Regions from separate parts of the Homo sapiens genome. Here all the other regions are linked to region 2. Evidence: promoter capture Hi-C in 16 types of primary human blood cells and fetal thymus (Javierre and others, 2016). All regions are on one chromosome and are shown on one strand. Each heading gives the region's core, a stretch centred on a gene start or on the middle of the fragment in contact. The rest is flanking DNA. Distances are from core to core; before and after follow the strand shown.

Region 1 (2,700 bases), core at 16-2,515, 240 kb after region 2:
GTTCAAGGGATTCTCCTGCCTCAGCCTCCTGAGTAGCTGGGACTACAGGCACACGCCACCACACCAACTTTTGTATTTTTAGTAGAGACAGGGTTTCACCATGTCGGCCAGGATGGTCTTGATCTACTGACCTCGTGAACTGCCCACCTCAGCCTCCCAAAGTGCTGGGATTACAGGTGTGAGCCACAGCGCCTGGCCATGCCTGGCTAATTTTTTGTATTTTTAGTAGAGACAGGGGTTTCATCATGTTGGCCAGGCTGGTCTCGAACTCCTGACCTTGGGTGATCCACCTGCCTCGGCCTCCCAAAGTGCAGGGGTTACAGGTGTGAGCCACCATGCCCAGTCCAAGAACAGGGTTTTTTGTTTTGCTTTGTTTTGTTTTGAGACGGAGTCTCGCTCTGCCACCCAGGCTGGAGTGCAGTGGCGTGATCTTGGCTCACTGCAACCTCCACCCCAGTGATTCTCCTGCCTCAGCCTCCTGAGTAGCTGGTACTACAGGCACGTGCCACCACCCCTGCCTAATTTTTTTTTTTTTTTTTTTTTTGTATTTTTAGTAGAGACAGAGTTTCACCGTGTTAGCCAGGATGGTCTCGATCTCCTGGCCTAGTGATCTGCCCGCCTCAGCCTCCCAAAGTGCTGGGATTACAGGCATAAGCCACCACACCCGGCCAAAGAACAGGTTTTAAACAACCTACACATTATCTTTTATGGTAAAATGAGCTGTAAATTCACATAGTACAGGAAAAGATAATGCTACATAACTAAGCAGATTTTAAAAAACAAAACATTTTCCTAAATTGGACCCCTGGGACCTTGAAATATAAGAATAAGCCTTACAAAATGTGCTTTCTCACCTTTATGGTGCTGAGTTTGTCTCCCTGGCAGGGATTTGGCCATCTACAGCATATATGCTGGTACAGAGCAAACCACAGCCACCGTTACCCAAGGGCATGAGGGAAGCTGCTGCCAGTGGAGCCTAAGAAGGTGTGAGCAGGAGCCTTACTTCTTGTTGTGGGGTGTGTGTGTGTGTGTGTGTGTGTGTGTGTGTATAAAATCAATATTTTATATATATATATATATATATATATATATATATATATATATATATATATATATATATTATTGATTGAGGCCGGGTGCGGTGGCTTACGCCTGTAACCCCAGCACTTTGGGAGGCCGAGGTGGGCGGATCACAAGGTCAGGAGATCGAGACCATCCTGGCTAACATGGTGAAACCCCGTCTCTACTAAAAATACAAAAAAATTAGCCAGGCGTGGTGGCGGGCGCCTGTAGTCCCAGCTACTCAGGAGGCTGAGGCAGGAGAATGGCATGAACCCAGGAGGCGGAGCTTGCAGTAAGCCGAGATCGTGCCACTGCACTCCAGCCTGGGCAACAGAGCAAGACTCCGTCTCAGAAAAAAAAAAAAAAGGCAAAGTACTAAGTACCAGCACAATGAGGGTTCCACTCAGCAGGCAAACTCAGACAAGACACTGACTTCTGTGGGTCAGGGAAGGCTTCCTGAAAAAAATAAAATCTAAGCCAGAGACCTAAAGAATGAAAAGGAATTAGTCAAGCTGCATTTTTTGTTTTTTAGGTGATCTTTATGTATTTTGTTTTTGGTTCGGTCGGGGAGGGTGTAGCAGGAGAATACCCCGATGAGAAGTGTATGAAACGGCCCAGAAGCATGGATTTTGGGGAGAGTTAGTCATTCCACATGGTTAGAGCACTGAGTTGAAGGAGGGAAGTGGGCAGATAAGCAGAACTTCTAGAGGCCCTTAGAGAGAAGCCCTACTTATGAACACACTCCCTTGGTGAAGTCACAGCCCTTGGAAGCTCTTGCTAGTCACAGCTTCTATTTCAATTTCTTACTCTGGAATAATTTTAGATATACAAAAAAGCTGCAGATGTTACAGAGTCCTCACATACCCTTCACCCAGCTTCCCCTAATGTTCACATAACCATGGTGTATTTGTCAAAACTAAGAAATTAGCACAAAAAACTAAACTACAGACTTTCAGATTTTACCAGTTTTTCTATTTATTGCCTTTTCTGTACCAGGATCCAATCCAAGATCCCACATTCCAGTTAATTCAAAGGCTTTTAAAAATTCCTTTCTTTACTTTGGAGCACCACGGTTTTATCATTTTCATCAGTTTCCATATATGCTCCCCCACCCCCCATCTTCACCAACCCACTGAGAAGGTAAATATATCCTTTCAGTAACGAGTAGAAGGTACCAAAACTGATGATGTGGAGTACAAACAACTGTTAGGGAGTCAAGAAAATTTAACAAACATGAGACGGATGTACACATGCATACATACACCCACACCAGTTACAAAATGAACCTGGCCTAAGATGCTGCTTCCACTATCAAAGAGAAAAGAAACTCAAAATTCAAGCAGACATGTTTCTGCTTTTTCAGTTTTGCTAGTAGTAAATCCTTTTTAATCTCTCTCTCTTTAAAGATCCCAACCAACCCAAGAAGTCAAGACAAAATCACCTGAACACTCAATCCATCCTTAAAATTCTAGCAAAATCATCTGGGATTTGGGAAGGGAGAAAACAGTGATTCATCCTCTTTCCCACATTTTCACTAAGGATTCTTAAGCATTAGGATAGAAATTCAATCATATCGCAACAATCATTATAAAGACACTTTTACCAGTATTAGTCATACTTCTTTCTGTTACATTTATA
Region 2 (2,700 bases), core at 178-2,677:
GCTGGGCACAGTGGCTCACGTCTGTAATCCAACCACTTTGGGAGGCTGTGGCGGGCAGATCACTTGAGGTCCGGAGTTTGAGACCAGCCTGGCCAACATGGTGAAAACCCATGTCTACTAAAAATACAAAAATTAGCCAGGCATGGTGGCGCGAGCCTGTAATCCCAGCTACTCAGAAGACTGAGGTGAGAGGAAGTCTTGAACCCGGGAGGCCAGAGGCTGCAGTGAACCGAGGTCACCCAACTGCACAAAACAAAAGACGTCCTGGCGCGGTGGCTCACTCCTGTAATCCCAGCACTTCAGGAGGCCGAGGCGGGTGGATCACTTGAGGTAAGGAGATCGAGACCAGTCTCGTCAATATGGCGAAACCCCGTGTCTACTAAAAATACAAAAATTAGCCGGGCGTGCTGGCGGGCCCCTATAATCCCAGCTACTCGGGAGGCTGAGTTAGGAGAATCGCTTGAATCCGGGAGGCAGAGGTTGCAGTGAGCCGAGATCGCGCCACTGCCCTCCAGCCTGGGCGACAGAGAGAGACTATCTCAAAAAAAAAAAAAAAAAAAAAAAGAATTCCCTAAGCTACTCCACAATGCCCAAACTACGTCTCCTGTCCTATCAAGACACAGCCCCATACCAAACACAAGCAACCTTTTCGGGAGCCTACGGCCGTCCCCCTCCAGCCTCTCCGAGCCTCTCAAGATTCCCATTTGAGATAACTTGCTCCAAAACTCCTCAAAACCCGCATTCTCTCAGACTGGCCCGCCCGTGAGCTCCCACAAGAGTGTAAGCTCCCGTCTGTCCGGTTGGCCAGTCCAGTCTCCCCTGTGTGCAGCACGGAACCAGGTCCCATACCCTCGAATGAATGAACTGCGTCCCTCACCTCACCCTTTCCACGTATCCCCAGCCCCTCTTATCCCCTAACCGCGATCAAACCCCACAATCACCGCTTTCGGGCCTCGGATTTCCTGAGTTTGAATTCTCCCGCTCTCTCAGGACTCCCCAACGCCCCCTTCAGAGCTCCCATCCTTCGGAACGGCCCTCCCAACCACTTCCCAGACCTTCCAGAAACATCCCCAATCAACTCCTCCAGTCCCCCCAAGAGAGAGACGATCCCAGAGCACAGAATTCCCGCCTCCTCCCTTCAAATCACACCTTCCCGCTCCTTCCGGGCCGCAAACGCCTCAGAATAGACGCCCCCTCCAGACCCTAGCGGCCTCAAGCCGCGCCGGCCCTGACCGTTTCTGGGCCTCCAGTCCCCACAGGCGGATCTGCCGGTCATACTGTGCCGCCTCCTCCTCGCTAATGCCGCCGCCAGCCTCCTCCTTCTCCACCATGGCGCCGGCTCTTCCTGCCTCAGCTCCGGTCCCGCTCAAGCCAACCGCCCGCCGGACCCGCGCGCCACCTACCGCCGCCGGCAGCACGCCCGGAGTGCTTCTGCGCATGCGCAGACCCTCCCACGCCTGCGCAGTACCTCGTCCGCGGAGCCTGGGACCAAAAGTACCTCACGAGACTCAAAGGCGATCCGGCGACTGCATGTCACGTGACGGAGGGTCCAACCAATCCTAGCCCCAAAAATGGCGCGGCTTAAGGCCCCGAGGGCGTTGCCCACGTGGTCACTTATGTGGCACTTAAATTCTGCAAATATTTAAGGAGTGCATACTGAGATCCCAGCAATAGGGATGTTGTAAAATAACGGTATTGAGTGAAATCGACAAAGCCCTGTCCTCATGGAGTTTACGATCCAGTGAGAAAAGCCCGAAGAGAAATAAATATAAACCCAGCGATGATAAATGCTTTGGAGAAAAATAAAGCAGGACATGGGGCTACAGAGTAACAGGGGTGGTCAGGGAAGGCTTATCAGAGGTGACATTGAACTGTCAATTTTTTTTTTTTTTTTTCATAGAGATGGGGTCCCTCTGTTGCCTAGGCTGGTCTCCAACTCCTGGCCTCAAGCCATCCTCCCGCCTCTGCCTCCCAAAGTGCTGGGATTACAACCATGAGCCACTGTGCCCAGCCTTTCATGTCCCTACTATGTGTTGCACTTTGTGCCCAGCCCTGGACATACAATAATAATAAAAATGAACACATCTCTGCCTTAGAGGCAGTCACGGCCCAGTGGGAGAGAGGAGCGTTAAGAAAACAGGAATAGGCCAGGCACGGTGACTCGCACCTGTAATCTCAGCACTTCGGAAGGCCAAGGCAGGCAGATTACTTTAAATCAGGAGTTGGAGACCAGCCTGGCTAATGTGGTGAAATCCCGTCTTTAGTAAAAATAAAAAAATTAGCAGGGCATGGTGGCTCACACTTGTAGTCCCAGCTACTTGGAAGGCTGAGGTAGGATAATTGCTTGAATCCGGGAGGCGGAGGTTGTAGTAAGCCAAGATCATGCCTCTGCACTCCAACCTGGGTAACAGAGCAAGACTCTGTAAAAAAAAAAAAAAAAGAAAGAAAGAAAGAAAGGAAGGAAGGAGGGAGGGAAAGAGAGAGGGAAAGGAAGGAAGGAAGGGAAAAAAAAAAAAAACCAGGGATGGCCCCAGGTGGTCAATATAGGGAAACGCTATCTCTATTAAAAATACAAAAATTAGCTTGGTGTGGTGGTACTGAGTCTATAGTCCCAGCTACGTGGGAGGCTGAGGTGGAAGGATTTCTGATGTTAGAATCATAGGCTTTTTGGCAGGGCACAGTGGCTCATGCCTGTAATCC
Region 3 (2,700 bases), core at 93-2,592, 230 kb after region 2:
GTGGAGGTTGCAGTGAGCTGAGATCGCGCCATTGCACTCCAGCCTGGGTGACAGAGTAAGACTCTGTCTTGGGGGGGGGGGGTGGAATACAAAAATTAGCTGGGCGCGGTGGCAGGCGCCTGTAGTCCCAACTACTCGGGAGGCTGAGGCAGGAGAGTCTCTTGAACCCCGGCGGCAGAGGTGGCAGTGAGCCAAGATCGCGCCACTGCACTCCAGCCTAGGTGACAGAATGAGACTCCATCTATTAAAAAAAAAAAAAAAAAAAGTTTAAGTTCTACTTTTAGTGGAGATGAGGTTTCACAGTCTTGGCCAGGCTGGCCTCGATCTCCTGATCCACCCGCCTCAGCCTCCCAAAGTGCTGAGATTATAGGCGTGAGCCACCACGCCCAACCTACAGTGTTTTCTTTTTGTTTGTTTTTGTTTTTAAGAAGTTCAAAAAACTTCATGGTTCAAAAACCCATTTAATGCTCAGACATTTGGTGTTCTAATTTCCAAGCTAGGCCAGGAGACAAGAATCAGAAAGAGCCTTGTAATCTGTCTCCTAAACCTTTTCTTCTCCTCCTCTCATTTGGTAAGCCTATCCAGATTAGTAACTACTGAGACAGAGAGAAATGAAATAACTCAGCTAGATAGACAGGAACCCCAGTCCAGAACCCAGGTCTCCTGACACCACCCCCAGCTCTCGTCCCTCCACTCCCCCGCACTGCCCTGGCTGGAGAACAGGAACGCGGAGCATAGGCACATATGGTGGGAGACGCTGGGGGCAAGTCTGTGGAGGGTCCTGACACGCTAAAGACAGTCTGGACTTCATCCTCTGAGGAACCACAGGCTTCTGAGCAAGAATGGCTTGGTCAGGACCGGGCTGGAGAAGGGAATTCCGAGAGCAATCTGAGCCCTCTCCCCCGCCACCTCTGTCCTGCTGTTTCACTCTCATCCACTGGATAAACGCTTCCCATGTAAAGGCCAACTCCAACCTGGTCATAATAAGCATCAGGAAAAACAACTGCTTTACGATGGAATCATGGAAATGCTGACACAGTGGTGGTGTGAGATGCTCCTTTGAAAGGCCTTGTCAGGCCCAGTCTTTGTAATTTCATGGTGGCTCACAGGAAGCGCCTGGGAGCCAGATGCTTTCTGCCTGTGCTCAAGGCCATAATTTCCTTCCCATACTTAAACTGATGACCCTGTGTCTCGCTGACAGAAGATTAGCCAAAGGAACAGGGCAGATAAAGAAGAAGCAAAATCTGAGGAAAACTGGCTGATTTGAAAAAAAATTCCTAAGATTCTTCTTGAGATGAACAACTAAGAAAACTTCCAGATGAACATGATCTGCTGTCTCTGAATGAAAGCCACTGGAAGGCAGGCCAAGCTGGGAATGCTGGCAGCCAGCTCCCTCACGTCACAGATGCGGAAGCTGAAGGGGAGAGGGGAAGGCAGTCCCAGAAACTGCTGTCAGAGCTGTCTGTGCCCTAAGAAAGGCTTTGCGCCCACTTCCCACCCCCATCCCAGTGCTGTCTCTCCACACTCTGCAGAGATGATCACATTAATCAAGACCCTAGAGTCAAAGTGACTGGGAAGGGGACAAAAAAGAATGACATCCAGCCAGTCCCATTTATTAAAGCAATAATCTCCACCCCTCACTAAATGTATACTTCTATAAAATTCTGCTTGTATGTTCTATATGGCACCTAGCCACCACTCAACACTTCAAGATATATTTCAGAGAAAAAAAAAAAGGCGAATTTCAAACTATAAGTAACATATCCTGTTGGGGAGCCCAAAAATAACTAAGAAAACATTTGTGATCATACAAGGAACTGAATAAGTGCATTTTCTATAAAGTGCTAGCTTCATGATTTTCCTTTAGATAAGAGACCAAAATAGTAGTTTGTTCTTCCTTATCAATCGTCATTCCTTAGAAAGTGCTTGGCCAGTAATATCAGGAAGATCAACGAGTCATCTCTTATCACTGGTTTAGCCCTCGGACTTAAGAAGGAAATCAGGTCTGGCCTACTCTTCCATGACAGCTGTCCTAATTGCTAGAGGAAGTCACCTTGACCTCATATATTTGGCTGCTATTCAGAATACCATGTCTCTTGGTCCAAATTATCAAAAGCATACATTAGGTAACAACATACCTTTCTCAGTTACATATGCACAGAATGCCCAAGATAAACCCACTGAGTGGTTCCCTCCGTGGCCTCACCTCCCACTCCCTGGCTCTGAATGGCCCTGGGAAGAGCACAGAGCAGCTACTTTCTTTTGAATCGTCTTAAAATCAATGCACAACAACGTACATCACCATTATAAAAACCCTGTCAGCAGACCGACTCTGACTCCCACGGCATTTACTATGTTAAAATCTTATGGGAAACTTGTACCATAGCTAATATGATTACTGTGTGCAGAATGAAGAGAGGGTTTGGGGATGAGTAGGTGTCTCAACCCAGTTCCTTCACTATTGCATGTGTCTCCCCAATGCCGCAGACCACTCCCCGGCCCCTGAATCCATCTGTGATTTCTGCTTTCTGCTCAGAAAACCCACTGTCAAGGCCTTAACTTAAGAGAGCCTGTCAGAGCCTTAGCTTTGCCATCTCTAACACCACGATCCCTTCTGGCTATTACCGCTCCTCAAGGGTACAGGTGTGGGCACAGAAACATATATAATCTGTTCATACCAAAATGCGATATCATACACAC
Region 4 (2,700 bases), core at 58-2,557, 220 kb before region 2:
ATGGAAAAATCCCGTCTCTACTAAAAATACAAAATTAGCCAGGGTGGTGGCACCTGCCTGTAATCCCAGCTACTCTGGAGGCTGAGGCAGGAGACTCGCTTGAACCCAGGAGGCAGAGGTTGCAGTGAGCCAAGATCGCACCACTGCACTCCAGCCTGGGCAACAAGAGCGAAACTCCATCTCAAAAAAAAAAAAAAAAAATTCATTTTTGTTTTTTTGAAACAGGGTCTCACTCTGTCACCCAGCCTGAAGTGCAGTGGCACAATCACGGCGTACAGCAGCCTCGACCTCCCAAGCTCAAGTGATCCTCCCACCGCAGCCTCCCAAAGTGCTGTGGATGACAGGAGTGAGTCACCACGCCCTTTCTCATTTTCTGTTTGAATCTTTTTTTCCTCCCTTTTGTCCTTCCAGTATTCACTCTCCATCACCACCTCTCTCCATTTCCCCATCTAATACTTTATCTCCCAATATCAGAAGCTTTAGTAATAGCTCATGCTTACTTACTCACATTAACACACAGACCTATCCTATCTGCATGATCTATTCCTATCCCACACCTATGTACATACACACACACACTTTTCTCACGACTGTCAGGCACTATGATCACCCCCTATTTTACTGAGCAATAGAGAGGCTAAGTGAGTAGCCGAGTGTTACATGAGCCACTCAAATCCAGGGGTTCGGGCTCCACTCCCTCGCTTTTCCATTTCTCAGCATCGTTCTCCATTATCTCCAGCTTTTGTGGGGTTCTTCCTATTTCAACTGTCTCCATCCTTCCGTATCTCTCGGTCTCCCCCGTGATTCAGTGTCTCGTTTCTCCATCTAAATTCCATTTTTTCTGTTTCTAGTGTCCACGATCAGTTTCCGACTTTTCCCTCCACTCCCCAAGTTCATGGGCGACCACGCCTCTCGGCCTCGTGGGCTCTAAGACTCTCGCTGGAACCCATCGGCACTCTCGCCCACGCTCTCTAGTTTTCAGCTTCCCTCCTCTCCCAACACCCTCGTCTTTCAGTCCCTCAGTTTCTCGAAGCTTCTTTTCGTGCCTCCATTTCTTTCGGTCTCTGGCCTGTCGCCCAGGTTCTCCCAGGGACGCTCAGGTGCCATCTCTGTCCGCGTTTGCCGGCCCTTCGGCTGCCTCCTACATTTCTCCTCATCTCGAGACTTCCCTCGCCCCTGGACTCGCACCCCAAACTACCCCCAAGCGGCCCAACTCCGACAGCCATCGCCGCCACAACCCGGTACACCCGTCCCGCCCCCCTCACTTACCACACGCCGCGAACGCCTTAACTTCCGGTCCCAAGAGCGCTAGTCTTGCGCCTGCGCACACAGCCATCTCGTTCTGACCCCGCCCCGCCACCACAGAAGAGCCAATCGGAAGCTCTGGGCTGCCCAAGACCCATCTTGCGCCTGTGCACAGCACGCTTCCGCCCCGCCTCGCTTGGGGCGGAGCCTCGAGTGATTGCGCCCTCTAGAGGCCAGTAGAGGCATTGCGGTACAGACTTGCAAGCGCCTCCTCCCCGGCCCCGCCCTCTCCTCCCCAAGCATAGCCACGTGCGCCTCAGCTCCGGGACGCCGGGGTTTTAACCCAAAGAGAGAGCTGGTCTGGGGCCCAGGAACTTTTTTTTTTCTTTTGAGACATAGTCTCACTGTCTCCCAGGCTAGAGTGCAGTGGCGTTATCTCACCTCATTGCAATCTCCGCCTCCCAAGTTCAAACCATTCTCCTGCCTCAGCCTCTCGAGTAGCTGGGATTACAGGCGCACACCACTACACCTGGCTGATTTTTGTATTTTTAGTAGAGACGAGGTTTCACGATTTGGGCCAGGCTGGTCTCCAGCTCCTGATCTCAAGTGATCCGCCCGCCTTGGCCTCCCAAAGCACTGAGATTACAGATGTGGGGCATCTCACTCAGCCTCTACCTCTTTTCTTTCTACAACCCCATTTTCTGTTACCTTTCTCTGCAATAAACTCAATCACACACATTCAGGAAGACCCCCAAGTATAGAAACAATCTCATTAGCCAGCAATGCACCCTCTCTTTTATTAACTGAAAGAAGAAACAGCTGGGCACGGCGGCTCACGCCTGTAATCCCAACAGTTTGAGAGGCCGGGGTAGGTGGATCACCTGAGGTCAGGCGTTCCACACCAGCCTGGGCAATATGGCCAACCCCTGTTTCTACAAAAAAATACAAAAGTTAGTCGGATATGGTAGTGTGTGCCTGTAGTCCCAGCTACTCAAGAGGCTGAGGTGGGAGGATCGATTGAACCTAGGAGGCTGAGAGACTGAGGCTGCAGTGAGCCATGATGGTACCACCGCACTCCAGCCTGGGTGACAGAGCCAGACTGTCTCAAAAAAAGAAAAAAGTGTTGTTGTTTTTTTTTTCTGAGACGGAGTCTCGCTGTCGCCCAGGTTGGAGTGCGGTGGCGCGATCTCGGCCCACTGCAGGCTCCGCCTCCCAGGTTCCCGCCATTCTCCTGCCTGAGCCTCCCGCATAGCTGGGACTACAGGCGCCCGCCACCACGCCCGGCTAATTTTTTGTATTTTTAGTAGAGACGGGGTTTCACTGTGTTAGCCAGGATGGTCTCGATCTCCTGACCTCGTGATCCGCCCACCTCGGCCTCCCAAAGTGCTGGGATTACAGGCATGAGCCACCGTGCCTGGCCAGAAAAAAGTTCTATGTCTAAAAAAAAGAAGGACT

The links. Contacts are between HindIII fragments. The CHiCAGO score rates a contact against its expected background, and 5 or more counts as called.
Region 1: a contact is called between a fragment that was not itself captured here and the fragment with the promoter of SAE1 in region 2, in 1 of 17 cell types (M2 macrophages). The highest score is 5.7, in M2 macrophages.
Region 3: a fragment that was not itself captured here is called in contact with the fragment with the promoter of SAE1 in region 2 in 1 of 17 cell types (M1 macrophages); the score reaches 5.4 in M1 macrophages.
Region 4: the fragment with the promoter of DHX34 here is called in contact with the fragment with the promoter of SAE1 in region 2 in 2 of 17 cell types (neutrophils and erythroblasts); the score reaches 6.1 in neutrophils.

What each region holds. Positions count from the first base shown.
Region 1 is chr19:46,886,682-46,889,381 of GRCh38, reverse strand. The region is part of intron 1 of ARHGAP35 (Rho GTPase activating protein 35); the gene reads right to left. Among named protein-coding and RNA genes, the nearest start is that of ARHGAP35, 27 kb to the right of the region's middle. The HindIII fragment of the contact is 4,283 bases long and covers 1-2,700 here.
Region 2 is chr19:47,129,562-47,132,261 of GRCh38, reverse strand. SAE1 (SUMO1 activating enzyme subunit 1) reads right to left here and starts at 1,427. Exons shown (of 9, transcript NM_005500.3): 1 at 1,234-1,427. The coding sequence starts at 1,331. RefSeq lists enhancers at 1,107-1,346, 1,039-1,653. The HindIII fragment of the contact is 6,112 bases long and covers 1-2,700 here.
Region 3 is chr19:46,902,938-46,905,637 of GRCh38, reverse strand. All of the region lies in intron 1 of ARHGAP35 (Rho GTPase activating protein 35), which reads right to left. Among named protein-coding and RNA genes, the nearest start is that of ARHGAP35, 43 kb to the right of the region's middle. The HindIII fragment of the contact is 8,700 bases long and covers 1-2,700 here.
Region 4 is chr19:47,347,922-47,350,621 of GRCh38, reverse strand. DHX34 (DExH-box helicase 34) reads right to left here and starts at 1,307. Exons shown (of 17, transcript NM_014681.6): 1 at 1,270-1,307. RefSeq lists an enhancer at 563-1,467. The HindIII fragment of the contact is 2,372 bases long and covers 1,036-2,700 here.